Regions from separate parts of the Homo sapiens genome. Here regions 1 and 2 are each linked to region 3. Evidence: promoter capture Hi-C in 16 types of primary human blood cells and fetal thymus (Javierre and others, 2016). All regions are on one chromosome and are shown on one strand. The core of a region is centred on a gene start or on the middle of the fragment in contact, and the rest is flanking DNA. Distances in the headings are between cores, read along the strand shown.

What was found. Contacts are between HindIII fragments. The CHiCAGO score rates a contact against its expected background, and 5 or more counts as called.
Region 1: a contact is called between a fragment that was not itself captured here and the fragment with the promoter of TBX2 in region 3, in 2 of 17 cell types (M1 macrophages and naive CD4 T cells). The highest score is 6.4, in M1 macrophages.
Region 2: a fragment that was not itself captured here is called in contact with the fragment with the promoter of TBX2 in region 3 in 6 of 17 cell types (M1 macrophages, endothelial precursors, megakaryocytes and 3 more); the score reaches 7.7 in M1 macrophages.

The regions. Positions count from the first base shown.
Region 1 is chr17:61,058,050-61,062,207 of GRCh38, reverse strand. All of the region lies in intron 19 of BCAS3 (BCAS3 microtubule associated cell migration factor), which reads right to left. The region is part of intron 4 of BCAS3-AS1 (BCAS3 antisense RNA 1); the gene reads left to right. Among named protein-coding and RNA genes, the nearest start is that of BCAS3-AS1, 76 kb to the left of the region's middle. The HindIII fragment of the contact is 2,533 bases long and covers 1,026-3,558 here.
Region 2 is chr17:61,037,695-61,041,825 of GRCh38, reverse strand. It overlaps BCAS3 (BCAS3 microtubule associated cell migration factor), which reads right to left. Exons shown (of 24, transcript NM_017679.5): 18 at 3,772-3,937; 19 at 934-1,034. All of the region lies in intron 4 of BCAS3-AS1 (BCAS3 antisense RNA 1), which reads left to right. Among named protein-coding and RNA genes, the nearest start is that of BCAS3-AS1, 96 kb to the left of the region's middle. The HindIII fragment of the contact is 296 bases long and covers 1,269-1,564 here.
Region 3 is chr17:61,398,197-61,402,328 of GRCh38, reverse strand. TBX2 (T-box transcription factor 2) reads right to left here and starts at 2,486. Exons shown (of 7, transcript NM_005994.4): 1 at 1,758-2,486; 2 at 378-645. The coding sequence starts at 2,152. It overlaps TBX2-AS1 (TBX2 antisense RNA 1), which reads left to right and starts at 2,723. Exons shown (of 2, transcript NR_125751.1): 1 at 2,723-3,090. RefSeq lists a cis regulatory region at 2,402-2,413 and promoters at 2,402-2,649, 2,269-3,529. The HindIII fragment of the contact is 11,976 bases long and covers 1-4,132 here.

The sequences.
Region 1 (4,158 bases), core at 1,043-3,542, 340 kb after region 3:
TATATCATGTTTATAAAATAAACATGATATAAAAATTCATATTTAATTAAAAGTTGTGGAATAGGAACAATACAATTGATACAGATGGTGCAGCACACCATAGTCAATATATGCAAGCAAACAAATCAGATATATATCAACAGAAGTTGGAAAACGATAAACAAAATAAAAGTTGACCTTATTGCATAGTGGGTTATGTGTTTTTCCCCCTATTTTTAGATTCAGTAACTTTTTAAAGGGGGTGTGCTACTTCTAACTTGCTTATGCATAATGTCTCCGTATCTGTTTATTTATCATTATCTCTGTATTTATACACACAAATATCAAACATAGGACCAGCTTTATCAACTGCTCAAACACGTTGTTTTTTTGTTCAGAAGAATGATTATTTGCTGAAAGCATCCTAAGCTAAATTCTGTGTAGAATTATGAGTTGTAATGCTTCAACAGTAGCAACGGTATTCTCACAGCCAAACCTGAATGTTAGATGCATTTCTTTCAGGAATAATCAATTCTCCATTATAAATTCAAGGAACACTCTAAAATATACTTGATAAGATACTAGGATGAGTAGAGCATATATGGAACCTACTGTAAATTGATGTTGTAAAGGTAAATAATCACTATTTTTGGTCATTAAATTGTGTGCAGTAATCGATGTACCCATCTGTACATGTAGGCAATAGGACAGTGATTGAAAACTTACTGTTCTTGACTCCATCTACAATGGCACAGTTGAATAGCAAAGGCTCTAATGTAGTATTCAGTCTAGCATCTACACTAAGCCCTGACAAACAACAACAAAAAAGCAGGCGAGGATGGGGGGTGATGTTTGCAAATGTAAAAATGGCAAAAATAATTTTTTTTTGCAAAGACTTAATGTGGTTTTTTCATGTTTCATTTATTTATTATCTAGTTACATACTAGGAAAATCCACATCATTATGCAGCAGGAAGAATTACATACAGATTTTCTCTTGCCTAAGCAAAAGAGGCAAAGTTGCCCTGGCATGGAGAGACAAAAGCTTTTAGACCTGGAAGGCACCAAACATTTTCACCCTATAGTTAGGAAAATAATCTAAAATCTTCTTAAATGATCATTAAGCATTCATGATGTTTTCCATATTTTAACTCTAAATTAATCAGAAAATTCTCAAAACCGAGAGGATAGGGGAAAGCATGAGACAGAGAACACAAGCCCACAACTACTGCAGGGTTTTCTTTAACTTTCCAAAAGTAAGAAGAGCATTTTCCAGGCTTGATCTTCCTTGCCTACTCCACAACGTCAAACTACTAAACAGAGATCTCCACAAATCACTGTCCCTGCCTCACCTGTTTTACGTAATGGTGGGGAGTTGTGATCTTTAAAAAGTCTTTATAATCAGATGTATAGTGAAGAATCATGGGTAAAAAGACACAATAGTGAATGACTTTCTTAGGATACTTTGTGGTAGAATGTTGTAAATTGTTGAAACTTGGTAATTGGTAGATTCCTTATACAACTAACTGTGTACTATGTACGTCTAACGTTTCTCCAATAATTTTTTTAAAAACTATTTTATGAATGTTTCAAAAGATTGAACAACCATTTCTTGACCTGCAGACTGACAGAGAGTCATCTTGACTCTTCTTGGCTAGGGTGTGGAATACATGAAGTATTCAGGATCATTCAGTGAGTGATAATTTAAAAAATCATAGTAATACTTTTCTAGAACAGGTTTTTTTTCCCACATAACACTATATGTATCATCCATGTTAATACATTTAGGTCTGGTGGCCGGGCGCAGTGGCTCGCGCCTGTAATCCCAGCACTCTGGGAGGCCAAGCGGGGTGGCTCATGAGGTCAGGAGATCGAGACCATACTGGCTAACACGGTGAAACCCCGTCTCTACTAAAAATACACAAAAAAAAAAAAATTAGCCGGGTGTGGTGGTGGGCGCCTGTAGTCCCAGCTAGTCAGGAGGCTGAGGCAGGAGAATGGCGTGAACCTGGGAGGGGGAGCTTGCAGTGAGCCAAGATTGCGCCACTGCACTCCAGCCTGGGCGACAGAGCAAGACTCTGTCTCAAAAAATAAAAATAAAAATAATAAAAAAAATATATTTAGGTCTGGTTTACTTTCATTACTGTATACCATTTTATTTTCATCTTGTATAACAAAGTGAGGTAGTTCTTTTCCCCTGCATTTTCTTCCTTCCTCACTCCCTTCTTTCTTTCATTTTCACTTTCTCTCTTTCCCACTCATTTTTTCCTTCCTTCCTAGGTTCAAGAGATTGTCCTGCCTCAGCCTTCCCGAGTGGCTGGGATTACAGGCACGCGCCACCACGCCCGGCTAATTTTTGTGTTTTTAGTAGAGACAGGGTTTCACCATGTTGGCCAGGCTGGTCTAGAACTCCTGGACTCAAGCGATCTGCCCAACTTGGCCTCCCAAAGTGCTGGGATTACAGGTGTGAGCCACCGTGCCCAGCCAGTAAAATTTCTTTCTATAGCTTTGAAAATGTGCCCAATATTAGAGCCATACTTGTCCAGCTGACCACTGAAGATCAGAGGAGATATAATACAAACGCTTTCTCTTCACAACAAAGTATGTTCACCTGTGCCACCTGGCAGTATCTGTCATAAAGTAGGTGGAATCATGAGAAGCAAGAAAGACCTCACGGAAGAAGGGTATTCATTCTCACACAACTAAGTACAACCACCAGCTATCATTAGTGAGTTTCTTTTTTCTATCCAAGCTCTTGGGTAAGCCTTTTTGGATCAATTATCTCATATTATCTAACAATGATCCTGTAAGGTAGGTATTATTAATACCCATTTTAAAGACGGGGAGAGGCCAGGTGCAGTGGCTCACGCCTGTAATCCCAGAACTTTGGGAGGCCAAGGCAGGCGGATCATGAGGTCAGGAGATCAAGACCATCCTGGCTAACACAGTGAAACCCCATCTCTACTAAAAATACAAAAAATTAGCCAGGCGTGATGGCGGGCGCCTGTAGTCCCAGCTACTCGGGAAGCTGAGGCAGGAGAATGGTGTGAACCCAGGAGGCAGAGCTTGCAGCGAGCCGAGATTGTGCCACCGCACTCCAGCCTGGGCAACAGAACGAGACTCTGTCTCAAAAAAAAAAAAAAAAAAAAAAAAAAAAAAAAAAAAAGATGGGGAGAAAAAAGAGTTCGGGGAGGTTATCTGCCTAAAGCTGTACAGATAGCAAGTAGCAGAGACAGAGTTCAAATTCAGGACTGCTGACTCTAAAGATCACATTCTTCACCTTAAGCAAAATCACCTCACCTCAATTTATCACTTCATTACCTACTAAGTTCATTATTTTAAGTTAAATTTATCATATAAAACATGTAAGAGATTTTTATCCCCAAACGTCAATTATATCATTGATTGAGAGTCTGTTGTTTGTCTATTCAATGTCTGCTTCACTTAATATAATCTTTTCTATAATCATAATAAACAGTTATGTATCCTGATCAGAGATACCTATACTGTGATCAAACAATGGGGAAAAATTACTTTAACCAGAAGTCACAACACAAGGTTACAGACATTGAAGGAAGCTTCACATGCAGTGAGAGAAACAATCAAAGTGCTACTTTACATACACTATAATACCTCTGATTAAAATTTTTCATCGTAGAAAATACTGGTTTGTTGGTTTCATATTTAAAGGTGTACATGATGCAACCACGGATGACATGCTAGCATCTAGAAAAGAGCACAGAAATCAGCCGAGTGACCAAGAAAAGAAAAAAACGCTATCCTCAAAAAATCCCCAAATCTCAGCTTTGACCAGATTTCACATCATATAGGGTTGTTACAGATGTTCTTCACAAAGTCATAAAATACAAAGAAAGCGTAGTATAAAAGACAAGAAACTGATGGCATAAAGGCACTGAAGGCAATATGGTGTTTCTGGTCCCCTGCCAAGTTCCACAGAATCATATGGCCAAAAGTCTCCTATCCTATGACAACAATAAGGGGAAGAAGAGACTGAAGCTGCAGAGAGACAATCTGTGGCACTCACCCACCAACCTTATGCCTCGGTTACTGGGCTGGTTACTTTCAGTAAGAAAAATCAAGAGAGAAAAATTTTTTCAAAGAAAGAGAAACTCAGTAATGATAAGAGCTTATACACTATCAAAGCAAAATTAAAACTTTT
Region 2 (4,131 bases), core at 167-2,666, 360 kb after region 3:
GAGAGAGCAAGACTGCCAACTATTGATTACAGTTATAGAGTTTCATAACTTGAGAGCAAAGTCTATAAAATATTTCTGTTTCCAGTATAATATATAGCACATTATAAAGATAAAATAAAATCATTCGACAACTATTTTAATTCATGCTTTCTAATATACCGGGCAAGACAATGTGTTAAATACAACAAAGTTTCATTAAAAACATGTCAATGTTGATTTTTAAGAATTTTCTTTAAAGCGTGCACTACTCAGAGCCATCAAATTAAATTAAGGATTCTGTCTATATCTACAAAACTGAATTATAATTGTAAATAATTTTTAATTCTATAAACGCAAACTGGATAATAAATACTAAATTGCCTTTAAATGACTCCCATATAAAAAGCTGTTATCTAGGTCAATGAACTTGGTTCAGTCTCTACAAATGCTCACGCTTAAACATATAAGTAAACAAACAAATTAACAAATGTAGTTGAAATCTTTACCTCATTATTGCAAGTAAAATTCTACCAAAAGAAAAGCCTGCTGGCATTGTTTTCATAGTTGCACTTTTAACTGTGCTAAGTTTTGGGGTTTTTTTTTTTCCATGTTAGAAACAGATTCCAAGCTTTATGAAACTTTTTATTATATCCTAGCATTTTCAGGTGGTGGTTTTTATGTTTGTTTGAATTTTTGAGCCCTCCAGATATTCCCTATCAACTTAACTTTTATTACAGAAATATATTTCATAGGTAAAGAATATAAGCAGTCAGAGACATAATGTATACTAAGGCTTACAGTTTATATTCATATTAAATATCTTATTTGCCTCAAACTGATTCTTTAAGGCCCATGGCCTATGGACCAGTGGTAATGTTTGCTTTCAAAGCTAGCATTTTAAGATGAAATCTGAATAGACCATACGAAAGGAAAAAAAAAATCTGAACTACTTACGGCCAGCAAGCAGGAACTGATAATACTGTACTGCATCTGCAGCGAGGAGCAGAGGGTGGTTTGCATTAAACGGTGGCTGCAATTCATTCCATTGAGGGGTTCTAAGGAAACAGGAGAAGAATATTAATATTTAAGCTTAATAGATGGGATGTAAATCACCATGACTGTCATCACTTATGAACAGTGACTTAAACTCACACTACTTTTGTGATCATTAAAATGAACTTGTAATCATTAAAATGAATGTGATGAAACCTGAAACACAAGGCCATCTGCTTAGAAAAAATAAAAAGGTGGCAGTCTTTCATACAAATAACATGCAGTCAATATAAGCTTAACAGCAGAAGACCCTCCAACAGGATAGGCAAGACATTCAGAAGATTAAACAGGTGTAAAATTCAAATGTTACAACTAACTAGTTCTAATTTATGTAATTTCTGACCTCTCTATTCTTAAAATATGTGTATATTTTAAAATAAAATGAAGTAGGTAAAAATGGTTAATAAAACACAGCTGTGTAAATGGATGACTTATTATAGATCAAATTAGCATCTGAGTTCTGAAATAAGTTACTATTTCAACAATGATAGTGTAGTAACTTTAATTAGATCTGCCCACTCCTAAATAAGCTTGATAAATCAGATATTGATCAGATCAATCCAGCATAGTAAAGTAGTAGTAAAGAATGCTGGAGCCTCCAAAAATCAATACAAGAATATTTTAAAATGTCAAAAGGACAGGGATCATTTTCATATCCATTTTTGTCTGTTTCCTTCCATACATGTCAGGAGCAATTTTTTCTTTCCTGGACAATGAACTATATTAAAGAGGTTTTATTCCAGGTTTTTTTTCCTTTTGGTTATAGCTTATAAAGATTCTAATCATTATGCACGTTTGAGATGGACTCTGATTCTTAATAAACATTCCTATAAGGCTTAACCACTGTATCTTGGAGAATTACTTTCAGAGAAACCTTTGAATCTATCTATATTAGTTTCTATTCCCCTTAATGGCTATCTCAATGTTACTCTCTATTTTCGGTGAGCATGAGATTGCAAATAGAGGAAGCATAAATCCAAGAAAATTTAACACAGAAGTGCAAGGGGGAAATAAGTTCAAACAGAGGTATTCTCCAAGGTACATACAGAAGACAATTAAAAAAATATGTTCATGGGCCGGCGCGGTGGCTCACGCCTGTAATCCCAGCACTTTGGGAGGCCGAGGTGGGTGGATCATGAGGTCAGGAGATCAAGACCATCCTGACTAACACAGTGAAACCCTGTCTCTAGTAAAAATACAAAAAATTAGCTGGCGTGGTGGCTAGTGCCTGTAGTCCCAGCTACTCAGGAGGCTGAGGTAGGAGAATGGTGTGAACCTGGGAGGTGGAGCTTGCAGTGAGCCGAGATCACGCCACTGCACTCCAGCCTAGGTGACAGAGCAAGACTCCATCTCAGGAAAAAAAAAAAATGTTCACACAAGAATCTGTACATGAATGTTCACAGCAACATTATTTAATAACAGCTTAAAAAGTAGAAATATCCATCAACTAATAAATGGATAAACAAAATGCAGTATAACCATATAATGGAGTATTATGTAGCCATAAAAAGGAGTGAAATTCTGACACACGCTACAACATGGATAGATCTTGAAAATATGCTAAGTGAAAGAAGCCAGACACAAAAGGTCACATATTATATGATTCCACTTACATGAAATGATCAGAGTAGCAAAATCCATAGAGAAAGAAAGTAAACTGGCTGCTGCCTAGGTCTGAAGGGTTGGAGAAAAATAAGGAGTGACTGCTAATGAGTATGAGGTTTCTTTTTAGGGTGATGAGAACTGATTGCAGTGATAAGTGCACAACTTTGTGAAAAGTCACTTTTAATGGGTTAATTTTATTGTATGTAAATTATGTCAAATGAAAAAGTAATGAAAGGCCAGGTGCTCATCCCTATAAAACCAGCACTTTGGGAGGCCAAGGCGAGTGGATCACCTGAGGTCAAGAGTATGAGACCAACCTTGACAACATGGTGAAACCCTATCTCTACTAAAAATTAGCCAGATGGGATGGCAGGCGCCTGTGGTCCCAGCTACTCAGGAGGCTGAGGCAGGAGAACCGCTTGAACACGGGAGGTGGAGGCTGCAGTGAGCTGAGATCGTGCCACTGCCCTCCAGCCTGGGCAACAGAGCGAGACTGTCTCCAAAAAAAAAAAAAAAAAAACAAAAACAAAAACAAAACAAAAAAAAGGAATGAAGTATTGTTTGTTTTGCTAGATGAAAGTGAGATTTAAGAAATTACATACTATATGATTCCATTTATATAAAATTCTAGAAACTGGGCCAGCACGGTTGCTCACGCCTGTAATTCCAGCACTTTGGGAGGCTGAGGCGGGCAGATCACGAGGTCAGGAGATCGAGACCATCCTGGCCAACATGGTGAAACTCCGTCTCTAATAAAAATACAAAAAAATTAGCTAGGTGTGGTGGCGTGTGCCTGTAGTCCCAGCTACTCAAGTGGCTGAGGCAGGAGAATCGCTTGAGCTGAGATCGCGCCACTGCACTCCAGCCTGGGTGACAGAGTGAGACTCCGTCTCAAAAAAAAAAAAAAAAAAATTCTAGAAACTGTAAACTAATCTGTAGAGACAAAGGGGGTGAAAGAAGGAGAGATTACAAAGGGTCACCAAGAAACATTTGAGAGTGATGTATTTGTTTACCATGTTAATTGTGGTGATGATTTCGTAGCTGTATGCATGTCAAAACTTATCAAATTATACGCTTTTAATCTTCTATACCTTAATGAAGCTGTTAAAAAGAAAAAAAGAAAAGAGGTACTACCTAACCAGAGTCCAGCTGGCTCGAGGCGATGTCATCATTTCCAGTGGTGTGTCGTCACTAATCTTGGGTGCAGTGCTGAGGGGTCGCGGCTCCATCATGTGTTCCACTAAGGTGCCATAGCAACTGATAATGTACAGGGACTCAACTACAACTTGTTTGGACTGATCTACAAACAGAGAAACAGAACCCGATGTGTTATGATGGCATAAATGGAGCACAGAATAATTTTTACAAGTTAATGATCTTATTAGTCTGCTCCTGAGGCTGCTCAGAGAAAATGAAAAGACAGGAATTTTTTTCTTTTTTTCTTTTTTTTGGAGATGGAGTTTTGCTCTTGCTGCCCAGGCTGCCGCCTCCCTG
Region 3 (4,132 bases), core at 1,237-3,736:
AGGTCATGGGCAGGTCTTCCAAGCTCGGCACCTACAGGCCAAGAGCAGGGTGACCTCCGTGGTCCAGCACTGCAGACCCAGTCCTGGCAGCACCTGCCTCCCTATTGACGGTACAAGGGACCCTCCACGGCCTGAGGAACTGAGATTGTGAGCTGCCAGCCACTGACCCCACCATTTCCCAGGCTTGCAAAGGAGAGCGCTGGGGCCCAGGCCCAGGCCCAGCCCACGTAGACCACAGGGCAGTGACCCGGGCAGGGGCACTCTGGGGGTTTGCCCAGCGCTTCCCCCTGGGAGATCCTGCCGCCCTGCTCTCCTGCTCAGCTGCAGTGCTGGGTCAACAAGCTCCTGCACCGTCCCCACCCTGCCCCAACACTCACGAAGCCGTGCTTGTCAGAGATGTTGTTGGTCAGCTTCAGCTTGTGGAAGGCCACAGGCTTAGCCATCCACTGCTCCCCCGTGGCTGGGCTGTCTGGGTGGATGTACATGCGTTTGGGCATCTCAGGGTCGGCCTTGCCCGCCACCATCCAGCGCGAGTTGTGGAACTTATAGCGGCAATCGTCAGCGGCTACAATGTCCATCAGCAGGATATACTTGGCCTTCTTGTCCAGGCCGCTGACTCGCACCTTGAAGGGGGGGAACATCCGCCTGGGAGGGAGGGAAGGGAGGAGATCCCATTGGAACCGGCTGTTCTAGGTTCCAGGACCCCACTCCTCCTTTATTTATCCCTCCTCGTTGCGCACACCGCTGCCGCCTGGCTGTTTCCCCTGTGGTCGGCTGCTCTGCCCTCTCATCACTGCCCGGACGACCCCACCTGTGGTTGTTGCTCCCAGGAGATCCCATTTCTGCCTGTCAGACCCTCTCCTAAACAGCCTCCTTTAGGCCTTGTGCTCAGATCTGGGGACCCTCTTTCTCCCTGATCTGAGATGAAAGCTGATGCCCAGGAGAGAAGTCTAGGCCCTCTAGAAATATTCTCGCTTCTCCTTAATCTCCCCGAAATTCGTTCAGGGGAAATACCCACTTGGGACGGAAGCTCCCAGAAATAAATCTGGAGGGTGTTTGTATTGGGAACTGGGCTACAGAGCCTGATAAGACATCCTGGCCGTGCAGTTCGGGGGAAGAGGGTGAACCCGAGGCCTGGATTCTCGGTGGCTGAGTCGAAGGGTGGAGGGGCCGGGGCTGTGGCTTTCTTCAGGCTTTAAGGCCTGGGGCGGCGGATGCGTCCAGGGCTCGGATGCCCGCGGTGGAGAAAGGGCTCCCAGCCCGGTGAGGCGGAGGGCTCGGCTGACCCGGGGCTCGCTGCCAGGAACCGAGCAACCAGCGTGGGGTTAGCTGGGCCCAGGTCCCACTAGGGGCTTCGGGGTCGGAGCAGAGTCTGAGAGAGGCTGAATTTCCCCCGAGCTCGGAGACGGACCCGGACGCAGAAGAGCGAGAGCGCGGGGCGGAGGAGACCGCCAGGGCCAAGCCGCGGGGCCTCCTCTGCGCTGGGACTCAGAACGGTTGGGGCTATTCTTTAGCAGTATGTTTTCGTTTTATTTCATTCGGAGGATTTTAGCGTTTTTGTTTTAAAAAAAAATCGCTCCGGTGCCAAACGAGAAAAGTCAACTTGGTTGTCCGTGGGAGCGAAGCGTGGCGTCAGGGCCAGAACCTGGAGCCGGGAGCCGGGAGCCGGGAGTCCCCAGCTCTGCTCTGATCCGTGCAGTCCCGTGCCCCAGCCCGCCCGCCCGCCCGCGCGCCTTCCAGCCGGCCGGCAGCCCTACCTCCCGGACTTGGTGATGACCATCTCCGTGCCTAGCTTGTGGAACTGGTCCCACAGCTCCTTGGCCTCCAGCGTCACCTTGGGGTCGTCCTCCACCTCGTCCTCGGGCTCCAGGCTCTTGAGGGAGCGCAGATGCGCGGCGGGCGGGTGCGGGCCCAGTGCCGAGACGTGCAGCCCCGCCTCGGCCGCTGCTGCCGCCGCCGCCGCCGCGGCCGCCGCCCCCGCCAGGCCCGGGTCGGGCAGCGGCTTGGCCAGCGCGCCGGGCGGCAGCGCGAGTGCCGGGAAGAAGGAGGGCTGCGCCGCCGCCAGAAAGGCGGACATGGGGAAGTCGGCGGGCCGTGGCGCGTGGAACGGGTGGTAAGCCATGGCGCTGGCCGCCAGCGCCGGCTCTCTCATCGGGACATCCGGCCCAGGCGCCCGGGGGCCGGGGCCGGGGCCGGGGGCGCGCGGCTCGGACCCCCGGCCCGGGCGGCGGCGCGCGCGGTGGACGGACGACCCGGGTGGCGGGCGCAGCAGCTGCTCCTCGGGGCTTCCCGTCCGGCGCACCGCAAGGGGCACCCGGCTCTGTGCGCGGGGGCGGCGGGGGCTCTGCGCGGGGCCGGGCTGGGCCGGGCTGAGCTGGCCCGCTCCGGCGCCGGGGACCACGCGCGACTGGTTAGATCTTGTCGTGATCTCTGGAAAACTGTGACTATCTCACATGTCCTGCCCAGCTCGGATCCCCTGCGCTAACGAGCCAGGCCCCCCTTGATTGCTGATTTTACGCTTTTTGGACCAATTGTGGGTCTCCGGGGGCGGGGTTTTGACAGCTCAGGCCAAGCTCCGGCCGGGAGGGGGGGCCTGGGAGAAGGTGTCGGAAGCCTCAGCAGTAAGAAAACATGTCAACAGAATAAAATATTAACCAATGACGGGCCGCCGGGCCCCGAGACCCCTCCTCCTGCCCCGGCCCCCACCGCCCGCCCGCGCCTGCGGCTGCCTGCGCCGGACTGGAGAGCGCGGAGGGCCGACCTGACCCGCCGAAAGGGCCTGAGGCGAGGGGAGCCCGGGTCCCGGGGCCTTGGGGAAGGACCCGCAGCCGCACGCCGGCCCCAAGTGCAAAGCATTGACACGACCCCGAGCGGAGAGGGGGCGCCCTCCTTCTCCCGCGCCCAGAGGCCCGGCCGCTCTGGCCCGAGCCCCAGCCTGGCCTCCGACCCAGCTCCGGGTCGTGGCGCCGCCTGGGGGTCCCTGCGCCCCGGAAAGAGACAGCAGGCACTGGAAAGCGAGGCCGGTGGGCGGGCGAGTCGGGAGGCTCGGGCGGCCGAGGTCCGGGAGCGGATCCCAGGTGGCGGGAGCTGGTGAGTGGAGCCATGGCCGAGCCCTGCTGGGGCCGGCGCGGGCGGGAGCGGGACGCGGCCTTGCGCTGGGGAAACGCGGGGACCCCCTACCCGCGCCCGCCTTCACCGGAAGACTCGGAAGGAACCTGGAGTTCTCCGCAGGCCCGGGCCCCGCCCTGAGCTTTCCAGCGGCCGGGAGGAGCGGATCCTCGGGGCCAGGAAGGTGAGCGCACCTTTCGCTGAGCACAGGGCGGCACCGCGCGGGCGGACCCCGGATTCTCCACCCGCGACCCAACGAATTTTCGCCCTATCCGGTACCGGAGACGAAAGTCTCCTTCTTCCGAAATACCGGCTTCCTCTCTTCGCCCTGCCAACCACTTTTTTAGTTTCTTCTCATCTCTCGGAAGCGCACGTCTCCTAAGTTAAGGAGTGCTGAGTAACGCGTGAGGGAGTTGGGGTGTCTGCGAGCACCTGTGATTGAAGCCCCCTCTTCTGTGATCAGTCTTCGTTTTCTGTCTTCCGGCAGCCTCAGTTTCCCCCCCATGAAGTGATGGTGTGTGTGTGTGTGTGTGTGTGTGTGTGTGTGTGTGTGTGTGTGTCGGGCCCCGTGTGGTGCCCTCTGTGCGCAGCGAGAGCTATAACTCAAGGTGTGCACGGGGAGAGTGAAGCGACCACGCACCTGCTTCCAATCGGGCTCGGGCGCGAACACTCAGGCTGATTCCTGAAGGTCGTTTTCTGAAGGAAAAGACAGAGCATGCACTAGCCACGGGTGACATTCCCACCCGTACAACCGCGTGGTGGGCGCGTACATCCAACATTGACCCATGCAGGCGCCCGCCCACTGCGCACACCGGTCGCAGGGCACTTCGTTGTTGAACGTTGGGAGCAGCGTTTGAAGGCCGGATCTCTCCTGGCAGTGCGGATTCGGGACCGGCGGAAGCAGTATGGCCTCTGCGACCGTTATCCCTACTTTTCGGGGCCGACCCCAGGGCCCTCACAACTCCTCATCACCGCATATGTGAGCGCCGCCCCCACAGGGTTTTCTCCACGACCTCGTTCTTGG